2 separate regions of the Homo sapiens genome follow, and region 2 is linked to region 1. Evidence: promoter capture Hi-C in 16 types of primary human blood cells and fetal thymus (Javierre and others, 2016). All regions are on one chromosome and are shown on one strand. The core of a region is centred on a gene start or on the middle of the fragment in contact, and the rest is flanking DNA. Distances in the headings are between cores, read along the strand shown. Region 1 holds the start of HOOK1 (hook microtubule tethering protein 1). Region 2 overlaps JUN-DT (JUN divergent transcript).

Evidence for each region. Contacts are between HindIII fragments. The CHiCAGO score rates a contact against its expected background, and 5 or more counts as called.
Region 2: a contact is called between a fragment that was not itself captured here and the fragment with the promoter of HOOK1 in region 1, in 1 of 17 cell types (naive CD4 T cells). The highest score is 5.6, in naive CD4 T cells.

Annotation. Positions count from the first base shown.
Region 1 is chr1:59,812,115-59,817,871 of GRCh38, reverse strand. HOOK1 (hook microtubule tethering protein 1) reads right to left here and starts at 2,923. Exons shown (of 22, transcript NM_015888.6): 1 at 2,692-2,923. The coding sequence starts at 2,754. It overlaps LOC105378758 (a long non-coding RNA gene), which reads left to right and starts at 3,006. Exons shown (of 5, transcript XR_947426.3): 1 at 3,006-3,110. RefSeq lists an enhancer at 2,056-2,619 and a silencer at 2,856-3,455. The HindIII fragment of the contact is 6,303 bases long and covers 1,351-5,757 here.
Region 2 is chr1:58,817,342-58,823,098 of GRCh38, reverse strand. The region is part of intron 1 of JUN-DT (JUN divergent transcript); the gene reads right to left. Among named protein-coding and RNA genes, the nearest start is that of JUN-DT, 35 kb to the right of the region's middle. The HindIII fragment of the contact is 1,452 bases long and covers 1,501-2,952 here.

The sequences.
Region 1 (5,757 bases), core at 1,674-4,173:
CAAAAGCCAACTGGATTACTTTAGAAAGTACTGTGTTATAGATAAGACAGAAAGAGGTTAACAGGTTACAGTGGGATAAGGGTGGGAGACAAACTTTAGAAATGGTTGTAACAAAGAGTCCCTGAAAAGCAACATCTGACCCAAGACCTGAATGACGGAAGCAGCCAACCACTGGAAGAACTAGAAAGAGAATATTCTAGGTAGAGGGAAAAAAATCCCTGATGCATTAAAACAGCTTAGCTTCTTCAACAAATAGAAAGTCAATGCAGCATGATAGGCTTGAAGAACTGTTGCTTGAGGTGAGTTTGGAGAAAGTTGGGTAGGTGAGGTAAGATCAACAGTGCGGTTGCTGGCAAAGGCAAAAATAATTAGTTAATTAAAAAAAAAAGACAGTAAACTTCACTGGAAATCATCTAAAGAGGTAAAGAAAAGGCAACAGACAAGATAACCAGAAACCAAGACAAGATAATTTCACAAAGGAACCATCAAGTAAGAAAATGGTAATATAACACTTAGTGGATTTAGCAAACTGGTAATGAAGTGAAAGTCTTAGAGGAAAGAAACTCAAGGGTAGTGGGTTGAAGACTGAATGAGAGTGAAGCATAAAGGGTGAGAATAAAACAACTCAAATTTTACTGTGAAGGAAAGGGGAAATACAGTATGACTTTAACACGGAATAGTGGCTCTTTGTTCTCTGTTAAAAAAGGGGAATACTTCAGCAAGTTTATACATACAGAGAAAGGAGCCAATGGAGAGAAAGTAGTTGTAAATACAGAAAGGGAACAAATGATACAATAACGTTTTAAAAGAGGTGGAAGGGATGGAGTCTAAAGCCAGAGCCAAGGATAAGGAGGTGGTCATTTGCCCCAGAGGAATAAGAGTTGGGGGCTCAGGTAGAATACTGATAAAGGTTTGCTAAGAGGAATGTGAGAGAAACTGTCTGGTTATTCTTAAGTATGGGCAATGTTAGGAGAAAAGGTGCGTTTGACAGTAACAGCATTAGTAGAGGCAACAGTTTGCACGGTCATTCAATTTTCTCCACAGTGCTCAGCAGCCCAAGAGAGGACTGAAGAAAACGACCAATTTTACTCTGTTATCTGTGATTCCTTATCATTTGGTTTACAACATATTTGCAGCTTTTACGGAATTTTACCTTCCACTGTAATTACACACAGCTCTGGCTACCACTCCAGTCCTCCCCAGTGCCTAGCTCAACATTGGAAGTCAATAAATTCTGGTTAAAAGAGTGGATACAGTCACATAATATTTTAAAATATTACAACACAAAAGAAAATCCTGTGCTTCTCCACCACCTCACATGTAAATCAATGACATCATAAAGACTAAGCTTAACACTTCAGTCAATTGAGGTTTACAATAATGTAGCAGATTCGGATACACCCTTTAATTAGTCTGTTTTAACAAAACAAATCATTAAAAGTAATGTTGCCTTGTTTCTACGACAGTCTTAAATACAGCACTTCCACCCCAATACCTATTTCAAATGAAAATTCAGCTGAACAGTTAGCTAATTGCTTTTAACTCACAAACCCTAAATATTTGCATTCCACTAAAAGCAAAAGTTATTTACTTACAAAGTGTAAATGCTTTAAATTATGGCTATTTCCAATAGGCTTCACACATTTCCATAAACCTAGATTTCTCATTCTTTGGAATTAGATGCATTAGATCACTAGGGAATCTCAACCGATTACAGCCTCCTGATCCCGTCTGTTTACATTCCATCTGCACACACTCCCCTAGACGCAACTAAACAACTGGTTTGGGATGAGCATCATCAACAGCACCTTGTGGCTCATCAAACACCATCTTTACTCAATATGGGTTAAGAACCACACCTGAATGCCAGCACTGATATCTAAGTAACTCTAAGAGGTGGGATGTCATTTTGCTGACTGGAATATTGAACAATCTGGGGACAGATATGCCTGTCCAGACCCAACACAAATTAACAAAAATCCTAAACACAGATAAATCCTAAAGAAAAATGTCAACTCATTTTCTTTAAAGAAAATGCTGTCCATTTAGAGGAGGAGAGGGCCAGCGAGAAAAAGGGAAAACGACCCCCGACTCCCAACACATCTTTTTCTCCATACGGGAAATACAAACATCTCTTTGAAGCGGCTTCTACAAAATCGGATGTTCTAGAGTCCTGAAGGAGCATTGGTCCGGGAACTAAAACAGCCAGCCACCTCCTGGCCACCTGTGTCCAGGTAGAGCAAGGTAGTTTGAGGATGCAGGGTTAGGTTTCGGAAAGGGTCTTCACGCCCAAGCGGACCAAGGCAAGAGAGTCGGCGATCCAGAAAGTGGAGGGCTCGGGCGCTGTTCAGGGGGAGAAAATGGGGCAGCGGGGAGAAAAGAGGATGGGTGCTTGGTTCATATCCCAGCTGTTAGGGCACCAGGCAGGTCGAATCCTCTGGTTGAGACCAGAGCCTCCACTGTTACGCTCCCAGAGCTTCCTTTACCCCCACCCCCGGACACCAACCCGCGCCCACACACCTGCCCGTCGACCCGCAGGTGGCATTCTCTCGGTCAAGGGCACGAGGTGAGAAGGGCAGGGTGCGCCGGGACCCTGTGCAGGTAGCCCCAGCTCACCTGGGAGAACCGGGCGCCCCAGGCTCCTCGCCTCGGCCCCCTGGCCCCCTCGCCCTCTCGCCTCCTCGCACTCACCCAGATCATGAGGCTGTCGCACAGGGGCAGCTTAGGCTGCGGCGGCGGCTGCGTCTCCTCCATGGCCGGCGCCGCCGTCGACGACGCCGCGGACACCTTCACACTCCCTCCTACCGGCTCTCCTCCAGGAGCCGGCGTCCACGACCTGCTAGCCCCCAGGAAAGCTCGGTACCAGGCCCGACCCGCGCAGCTCACGCGCGAACCCTCGCGCTGTCGACGCGTCCGGCGTCACCCCCTCCTCACCCGCCCCCGCCTCGCTCCAGCGTTCGCCCCCTCCCCTTCCTGGGCCCCGGCCGCGCTGCCAGGCACCTGAGCCCCGCCTTCTCCCACCCCTCCCCTCCTCCCACCCGTCCTGCCCACTCCCGCACACCTCGCCCCGCCGCCCTGAGTGACCTGGCCGCGCACCAGTCACAGAGACGGTAGGTACCCGGGGGGGCGGGCGGGGCGGGGCGGGGGCGGGAAGAACCGGGATAGGTTGCGCAGGGGGGATTGCTGATTGGACGTGCCCTCGTGGGCTCTGGCCAATCAACGTGAGACAAGCCTGAGCCTTGGGTAGAGAGTGAGAGTGGGTGGGAAGAGGTTTATGACCTGGCAGGTGCAGTGAGGGCGGGGGTGGGAGGTTGCGCGCGGGAAGCGAGCGCGCGTGCGCGGCGGGGATTGGTAAGGCTGAAGCTCAGCCCCAGTGGCCGAAGAGGCAGAGGGGCAGCAGGGCACCGGCTGGGCTCAGGCGTCTTCCCTCCTTCTTCGCGGTAGCACGCCGCCTCGCTACACCTGTGGAGGGCCCACACTCTGCTTCCACATTGTCTTCAGAAATAGATCCTACCGGCTGGGCGAGGTGGCTCACGCCTGTAATCCTAGCACTTTGGGAGGCTGAGGCGGGTGGATCACCTGAGGTCAGGAGTTCGAGACCCGCCAGGCCAAGATGGCGAAACCCATTCTCTACTAAAAATACAAAGATTAGCCGGGGGTGGTGGCACATGACTGTAATCCCAGCTACTCAGGAGGCTGAGGCAGAAGAATCGCTTGAACCCGGGAGGCACAGGTTGCAGTGAGCCGAGATCATGCCACTGCACCCCAGCCTGGACAAAAAACCGAGACTCTGTCTCTAAAAAATATATAAAACAAAATAAAGAAAGAAAGAAATAGATCATACCCATGAATTAAAACTCTTCGAGGAAGGAAGAGCTGATTTCCTCCTAGGCACTCATTGGAAAGGGATGTTTTCATTTGCACACGTGGCAAATATGCCACATTAATAAGGAAAATAGAATCCGTCAGTGCTCCTTAAATAAGCTCTCACGGGACCATAGATCATGAGCAATTTTATTTTACATGGGGCAAAAGGGAAGACCGTTTTCAAGTAGCAAAATAAACGAAATGTTTTGAAAAACATGGAAGATATTAATGTATCCATTTTCCTTTGTCAGTTGAAAATTTGCTTTTTCCGAGAATGTTGTGGGGTGGAGGGGGGTCGGGGGAGGTGACCTGAAATTGGAAGCTCTCCAAGGTATTGATAGATGGCTTAGGTGATTGAAAAGGGCTAGACTATTCTTAGTCTTGCTGTCACTTCACTCATTCATAAACTCATCAATTCATGCTCTGAGTAAGAAAACAGCTGGCTTTTTTTTATATTGCTGCGTTTTTATATTTAGACACTGAAAATTTAAAACTGATGGACGACTGCAATTAAAAGCCCCCAAGTGTAAATCAGTCTCATTCTAAAAATACAGTATGTACGTTTGCTATTGACTCCCTTAACATTATTCCAGAACTTTCTTAACGCCTCTGGAGTCACTTTATATGCTGGAACTAGGTACATTGGTAATGTGATTTAATTAAAACTACAAGATTTAGGAATTGAAGACCTGGTCTGAATCTTGACTTTATTCCCCACTGGCTGCTCTCCTATAGCCCCCAACCTCCACATTCCTAAGATCATTGTAATTAAAATGTAAACATACATGGTAAATGTAAATTATAAACTTTGTAAATATGAGTTACTATTATCATCTATACATATGGGAAACTTCTCAACATATTTATCACTGAGAGCCACAAGTGACCAAATTTCTCAAATAAAATAATTCGTGAGAGTAACTTGGTGGGGGGGGCAATTAAGTTATGCTTCTGGACTTTATAGAGAGTAAATTATCAGGGAAGGAAAAATTTAACAATTTTTATCAAGAAACTTTAAAATATCCATATCATTTAAACCCATGATTCCAATTTATTCTGCGTCAGTCATAAATTCTGTTGAAATCATCAGAAGTGCATTTGGAGGCTTTGAACAATGATATGTATGGCAATGCTATGTATTGATCAATTGTATAATCGATTGATACAATGCCCAATAAGCAAGGAAGGCTAAATATTTTACAGCAGATTCAGTGCTCTGGAGAATATTTGATAACTCAGGAAAGTTGTCACAATGTATACTATTAAATAAAATTTAGATGAAAGTATCAGCCATATGACCTCAATATTATAAATATTAGGTATGTATTTTAATATATACACAGGAAGAAGACAAAGGAATAATCATAAAACTGTTGTTATATTTATATACAAATGAAAAATGACTATTTTTCTAATCTTCCATATTTTCTAGGCTTTCTACAATTAGCTTATATTACTTTATAATCAGAAAAAAAGACTTTAGAAGAAATGCCAAATACAACATAAGTTATCATTTCCAACTATTAAATTGGCATCAGTTCTTTAGAAGTTGGCATCCATGTTTGGGGAGTTGAGTGAAACTAACTCTTAAACCCTAGCTGTGGGATTATAAATGGGTACAAAGTTTTTTGACAATATATATCAAGAGCCTTTAAAATGTTCAAAGTCTTTAAGCCAGTAAGTTCACTTTCAGAATCTATTCTAAGAAAATAATCATATGCCAACAAAGTTGTTGATTGCAGTACTATTTATCAAGCAAAAAGGAAAAGAAACAGCTATTAAATGTCTGAAAGAGAAGTGATTAAACACAGTAAGTTATATTTAAACAATGAAATGTATCATAGGCATTAAAATATTTTAAAATAAGTTTATTCAGGAAAATGCTTATCA
Region 2 (5,757 bases), core at 977-3,476, 990 kb after region 1:
ATGAACATACCCAAGTGGTGGAACTGGAACTAGAACTCATGACCTAAGATGAGCACAAACTTTTCCTCTTTATCATATGATGTGGAAAAAAATTATTCACTTATTCGTTCAGCACCAAACTTGGGCAGGGTTGCCAACCACCTGAGAGTGGGCTTGTCCCTAAGAGCCCTTCCTTCCTCTAATAGCTCTCAGATCCACCACTAATCCACCATCAAATTTTGATATGAAAACACAACTAACTCTCTTAGACACTCTAGTCTGTTTTACCAATAAAAGGCAAAGAATGATCAAATAGTCAACTCTGCCCCCAACATAACTGCATCTTAAATAAAGTTGGGCTTATTCTCCCTTCCCCTATCCTTTTATAAAGTTCCCCTCCAGTTCTAAATAAAAGTGTAAAATTGCTCCTCTGCAAATGAATTTCAAGGTCTCCACATCAAAACCCTGTAAGAAATAAAACAAGCAAAGTAAAGGCTTGAATGATTACAAAGCAAGAATATCAATTATGCACTGTCCCACCAAATTAGTTCCTGAAAAACAGAAACTCTCATTTCCATTGTTTCAGAAACACTGTAGAAAGACAAGGCAGTATGGTGGGAAAAGTCTGGGCCTGGGAACTATGGAGTGTTCCAGGAGACCTGAGGCCCAGAGACATTAAGTAACATGCTGAAGGTCACACAACTTCCCAACGGAGCTGAAAATGAAGACAGAATCTGAATTCATGTCATTCTGCCTTCACATTGCTTCCCTGCCCTTTTCGAGTAAGCTGCATGGTGATCTACCCTCAAAGCTGAGTAAGAGCAAAGCCAAGAGGTGGTAACTATGTGCCTAGGGGCCTAGAGCTCCTGGCTATCCCTAACTGTCCTGGGTCCTATAATCATTATGGTGTAATGAATGAGAACATCATGAGGCAAAAGAACTTCCAGATCATCCTCTTTGATTCTGCTTTATTCTATCCGAATCAGACAATGTCACTGTTCCACTCAGATTTCAGTGGGATTCCTTTTAATTGTTTAGGGGGTAGGGGGCTCCAATGTGCCTTCGGTGGCCAGTGCCAGCAGCTCTTCTTGGGTGGACTGTTAGGTGCTGTGGCTCTCCAGCCTTGGGCGAGGATAATCCTGAGGTTTAACCCACACTCCAGAGTCCTCAGGCAGGATCAAGCTGAAGCTGCCCTCCGCAAGTGGCGTCTTAATACCATTCCCCAAATTACAGTGAAAGTAACTTTTACATTTCAGTGAAAACAACCTTGGGATGGATGTGACAGATTCCTTTTTAAGGAATAAACACCAACTTACCACCTGTTTTACACTCAAGAAATCACTCTTTGTTCTGTTTTGATTATTTAAACTCATTTAAAAGATCACATTGTTCTTATATTTTGCTCCATAAGCCTTCATTTTGTTGCTGACTAAAAGCAACAAAAGTCTGATCAAGGTACTCAGCCTAATCTTCTGGCTGATAGTCTACGTTCCATTCATTCATTCACAGCTGGCTCAAGCTTAGAACCAGCTGCACTGGCTGATCTAGTCACATCTACCAAATTATGGTCTGACCTTAGCAACCACCCTGGGAAACAACCTAGGGCCTACCTCAGCCACTGTCCATGCTGTCACTCCAGCCATCTTGCTGTTCCTCTCACGTACCCAACTTGTTCCCACCTCAGGGCATTTGCACTTGCTGTTTCACCTGCTTGGAATACACTTGCTTCAGACCTTCTCCTGGCTCCCCTCCTCACTGCATCAGAGCTCTGCCAAATGCCACGTCCTCAAAGATCCTTTCTTGACTTCGCCATGTAAAATGATCTGCCCATCCCCTACTCTGTCTTTTTATATCTTTCTTCATAATATTTATTACTATCTGAACTGATATAGTTATTATTTACTTATTTATTGTCTTTCTCCACCAGGAGAATGCAAACTCCAAGAGAGGAGATATTTTGTCTGCCCAGTTCATTCTTATCTAAATGGTGCCCAAAATAGCACCTGGGAGAGGGCAGGCACTTGATATATTTTTTGAATTAACAAAAAATGAAAGAATAGCACTTCTCTTCTTCAGCCTTTTATTTGTGAAATAAAACTTTTCCAGAGAAAGATTGAAAAGGCTTGGAAACTGGGAGATCTTTAGCTTTAATCCCATGGGTAAGTCTCTTATGTTACCTATGGATCAAGAAACTCTCTGCCTCAAAAACCTGCAGTGGCTCCCTGTTGCTTCAACAGAGGACAGCTGTCTGTGAGAGTTCGCAGTCTAAGTAAAAACTCAAGACCACCTAAAATAAAATAATCTGACAATGACGTTGTGTGTGTGTGTGTGTGTGTGTGTGTGTGTGTGTGTGTGTGTCATAAACATTTACTGAGTGCTTGCTAAATGCCAGGCACTCTTGAAAGAATACAAAGATATGGATCCACCCCAACCACCATCATTTTGGTAGTAGTAGAGTGAGATATCCAAGGAGGTCATAGGCGATTAAGAAAAAGAGACTTAGGTTGGGCGCAGTGGCTCACACCTGTAATTCCAGCATTTTGGGAGGCCAAAGCAGGTGGATCATCTGAGGTCGGGAGTTCGAGACCAGCCTGGCCAACATGGTGAAACCCCTTCTCTACTAAAAATACAAAATTAGCTGGGCATGGTGGCGCATGCCTGTAATCCCAGCTACTTAGGAGGGTGAGGCAGGAGAATCGCTAGAATCGGGGAGGCAGAGGTTGCAGTGAGCCAAGATCATGCCACTGCACTCCAGCCTGGGTGACAAGAGTGAAACTCTGTCTCAAATTAAAAAAAAAAAAGGAAGAAAAAAAAGGAAGAGACGTGTAAAGAATATTAAAGTGTTAGCAAATGCCAAAAGATAATTCTACATGGGTACATGGGCACGTGTACAAAAGGAATCAGTCCCCTTCATTTGGATATAGGCAGGAGTCCAGAAAAGCTCCTAAAGTAAGCTGCATTTCAGCTGAAGCTTGGGGAACAGGGGCTCCCCAGACAAGCGGGGAGGAGCGGTAGTGAGGGTGTTCCACGGAGAGGAAAAGCCTGAGCAACGGCCAGGAAGGAGGAGGACACATTCTGGAAACTAGAGGTGATAAAGTCAGTCCGAAGTGTGGACTGTGAGCTGGGGTTCAGTAAGAGACCAGGCTATGAAGTAAGCAGGGTGTTTACAGAAAAGATACCACACTGGAGTCAGGCAGACCTGAGTTCAAGAGCTGACCATGTCACAAGCTAGTCAGTCAGTCCGCTCTGAGCTCAACTTCCTTGGAAGTCAATGACTAGGAGGAGGGGGGCAAAGGATCACCAGCTCTCCAGTGAGGTTGGTGGAGGCACGGAGCTGGAAACAAAAGTGCTGGAAAGACTTGTTTTGTTTCAAAACAAAATACTGAAAATGTCCCCTTGCTTTGATTTGTTTTGAATCATGATATTTTGCTTATTTTGAATTTGAAACTCATTAAAAGAGGATGTAAGGTTTTTGTGTTTATCTAGGGTGACTTGGATTATAAAAGAGGCAGAGAAACTCTGGGTGAGGCGATCTTAAAGTCCCCTCTGATCCTCACCTCCAGCTCTAAAATGACTGACATTTGGGCATACAGGGAAAAAGCAGAGAGGTGCAGCGAATCAGATACTGAACTTGAAGTCAGACCCAACTTCTTCCAACTCAGACTTTGCCACTCACTTTCTCGGCAAGTTAACAAGCGTCTTGGAGTGTCAGTTTCCTCTTCTATAATATGATCTTTTCCTCATAGCCTTATTTTGAGGTTTATTTGAAATAATGGATTTGAAAGCAACTGTCACATAGTAGGTGCTCAATAAATGTCAGCTGAGTATACTGTCTTTGTTCTCTCCATATCCCTGTCTCTAATCATAATAGTTTCCTTGTGAATACCTACCATCTGCTGAGTGTTGTCCACAGGCTATCTCTTTTACAAGCAGAAATTAATGATTTAATTCTTTGTTGTCAGTTGAGTTCATTGAATTGCCTCAAGGCGGTTCTGACCCTCAGAATAGAGACACAATGTTTGATGGGAATTTAGGGTATTCTGTCTGGAACTACACAGGTTTAAAATCTTTTGAAATTTAAAGTGGCTTTTTATTACTTTGGAAACCTATCCACTGCACGTTTTTATTTCTAACCATTATCCGTTTTCTCCCTTACTTTCCACATTTAACTCAAGGCTTCAAATACAAAAGCCAAGTTTGAAATAATCACAACATTTAAGCAATGAATGTAATGACAGCTTATATTTCCATGGCAGGAAGATGTACACTATATTTAATAGCTTTAGCCATTTACAGCAAAAATTACCACGGGGACTCCAAAGACAGAGGGTAGGAGGAGAATTCTGGGCCTTTGACTAAAGATGCCATAGTCATAAGCTGTTTTGGAAATGATTAAGTGATAAATACAGTAAATTTACCCTCAATTCTGGGAACCCCACAGTGCAGACATAATTCTACAGAAACAGAATTACTCTGCAAAGGCAGAAGTAATTATTATTATTGTTAAAAGGTCTAAACCTTAAGCCTGTGCTGTTTTATTCTCTTTAGCTGGAAGATCACTAAGTACACAGACGAGGGAACTTAGGTATGTGGAGCATCTATTAGACACCAACTTCTCTATCACTTAAAACCTAACCTCCCTCCACATTCCATGTAAGCACTTGGAACTGGACCCCCAAAAATTACAGTGAGGGAAACCAACAATCTTGAATATCTACGGTGTGCAAGCCACCTTATTATATAAAATATAGCATATGCATGCAATGCTTAATCATATATAAGGAATGCCAATAAGCTCAGAAAGGAACCCCTTGCCTTTGTTGAGGAGGCAGCTGTGTGTGGTATCATTCCTGGCTGCATGCCCATTGCCTAGCATTGTGTCTGATACATCCTGCAGGAATTAAGAATATGGAATAAGGAGCCAAACTTTGTAGATTCAAGTCCTACTTAGTAGCTGTGTGACTTTGGGTAAGTCATTTAACTTCTTCGTTCCTCAATTTCCTATTTGTGAAATGGGATGCTCTTAATACCTCTCTCATACTGTAATTGTAGAATTAAATGAGTTAATAAGGGTCAAATGCTTAAGACAGTGCTGGCAAACAGTAAGAGTTGCAAACATCATCACTTGTGGAATTGCTGGATAATGGGGACCTCACCATCACCCTGTGACATAAAGTGTAATAAACTCCTTTTTCCAGGTGGGGAAACTGAAGAAAGTACACCTGCCTGGTCATCCAGTTCTTAAGTGGCCTAAACAAGATTCCTACCTAGGCCTAACTAACACTAATAACAAAACATAGCATTTAATTAGTTTTTTTTCAAATGTTCTAGGCCTTTACAGATAGGCACATATTTACTTCTCACAACAATTATATGAGGTAAGTGTCAGTAACTCACATTTTACAGATGCAGAAACTGAGACTGAGGTTAAGTAATTTTCCCAAGGCCATATAGTCAGCAAATGTCAAGTGTGGGTTGTTTTGTTTGTTTTATATATTTTTTTCAACTTTTATTTTACTTTATTTTGAAACGGTGTCCAGCCCAGTGCCTAGGCTGGAGTGCAGTAGCAGGAACATGGCTCACTGCAGCCTCGACTTCCTAGGCTCAAGCAATCCTTCTGTCTCAGCCTCCTATGTAGCTGGGACCACAGGTGCACGCCACCATGCCTAGCTAATTTTTAAATTTTTTGTAGAGATGAGGTCTCACTTTGTTGCCCAGGTGGGTCTCAAACTCCTGGCCTCAAGCCATCCTCCCCCTTCTGTCTCCCAAAGTGCTGGA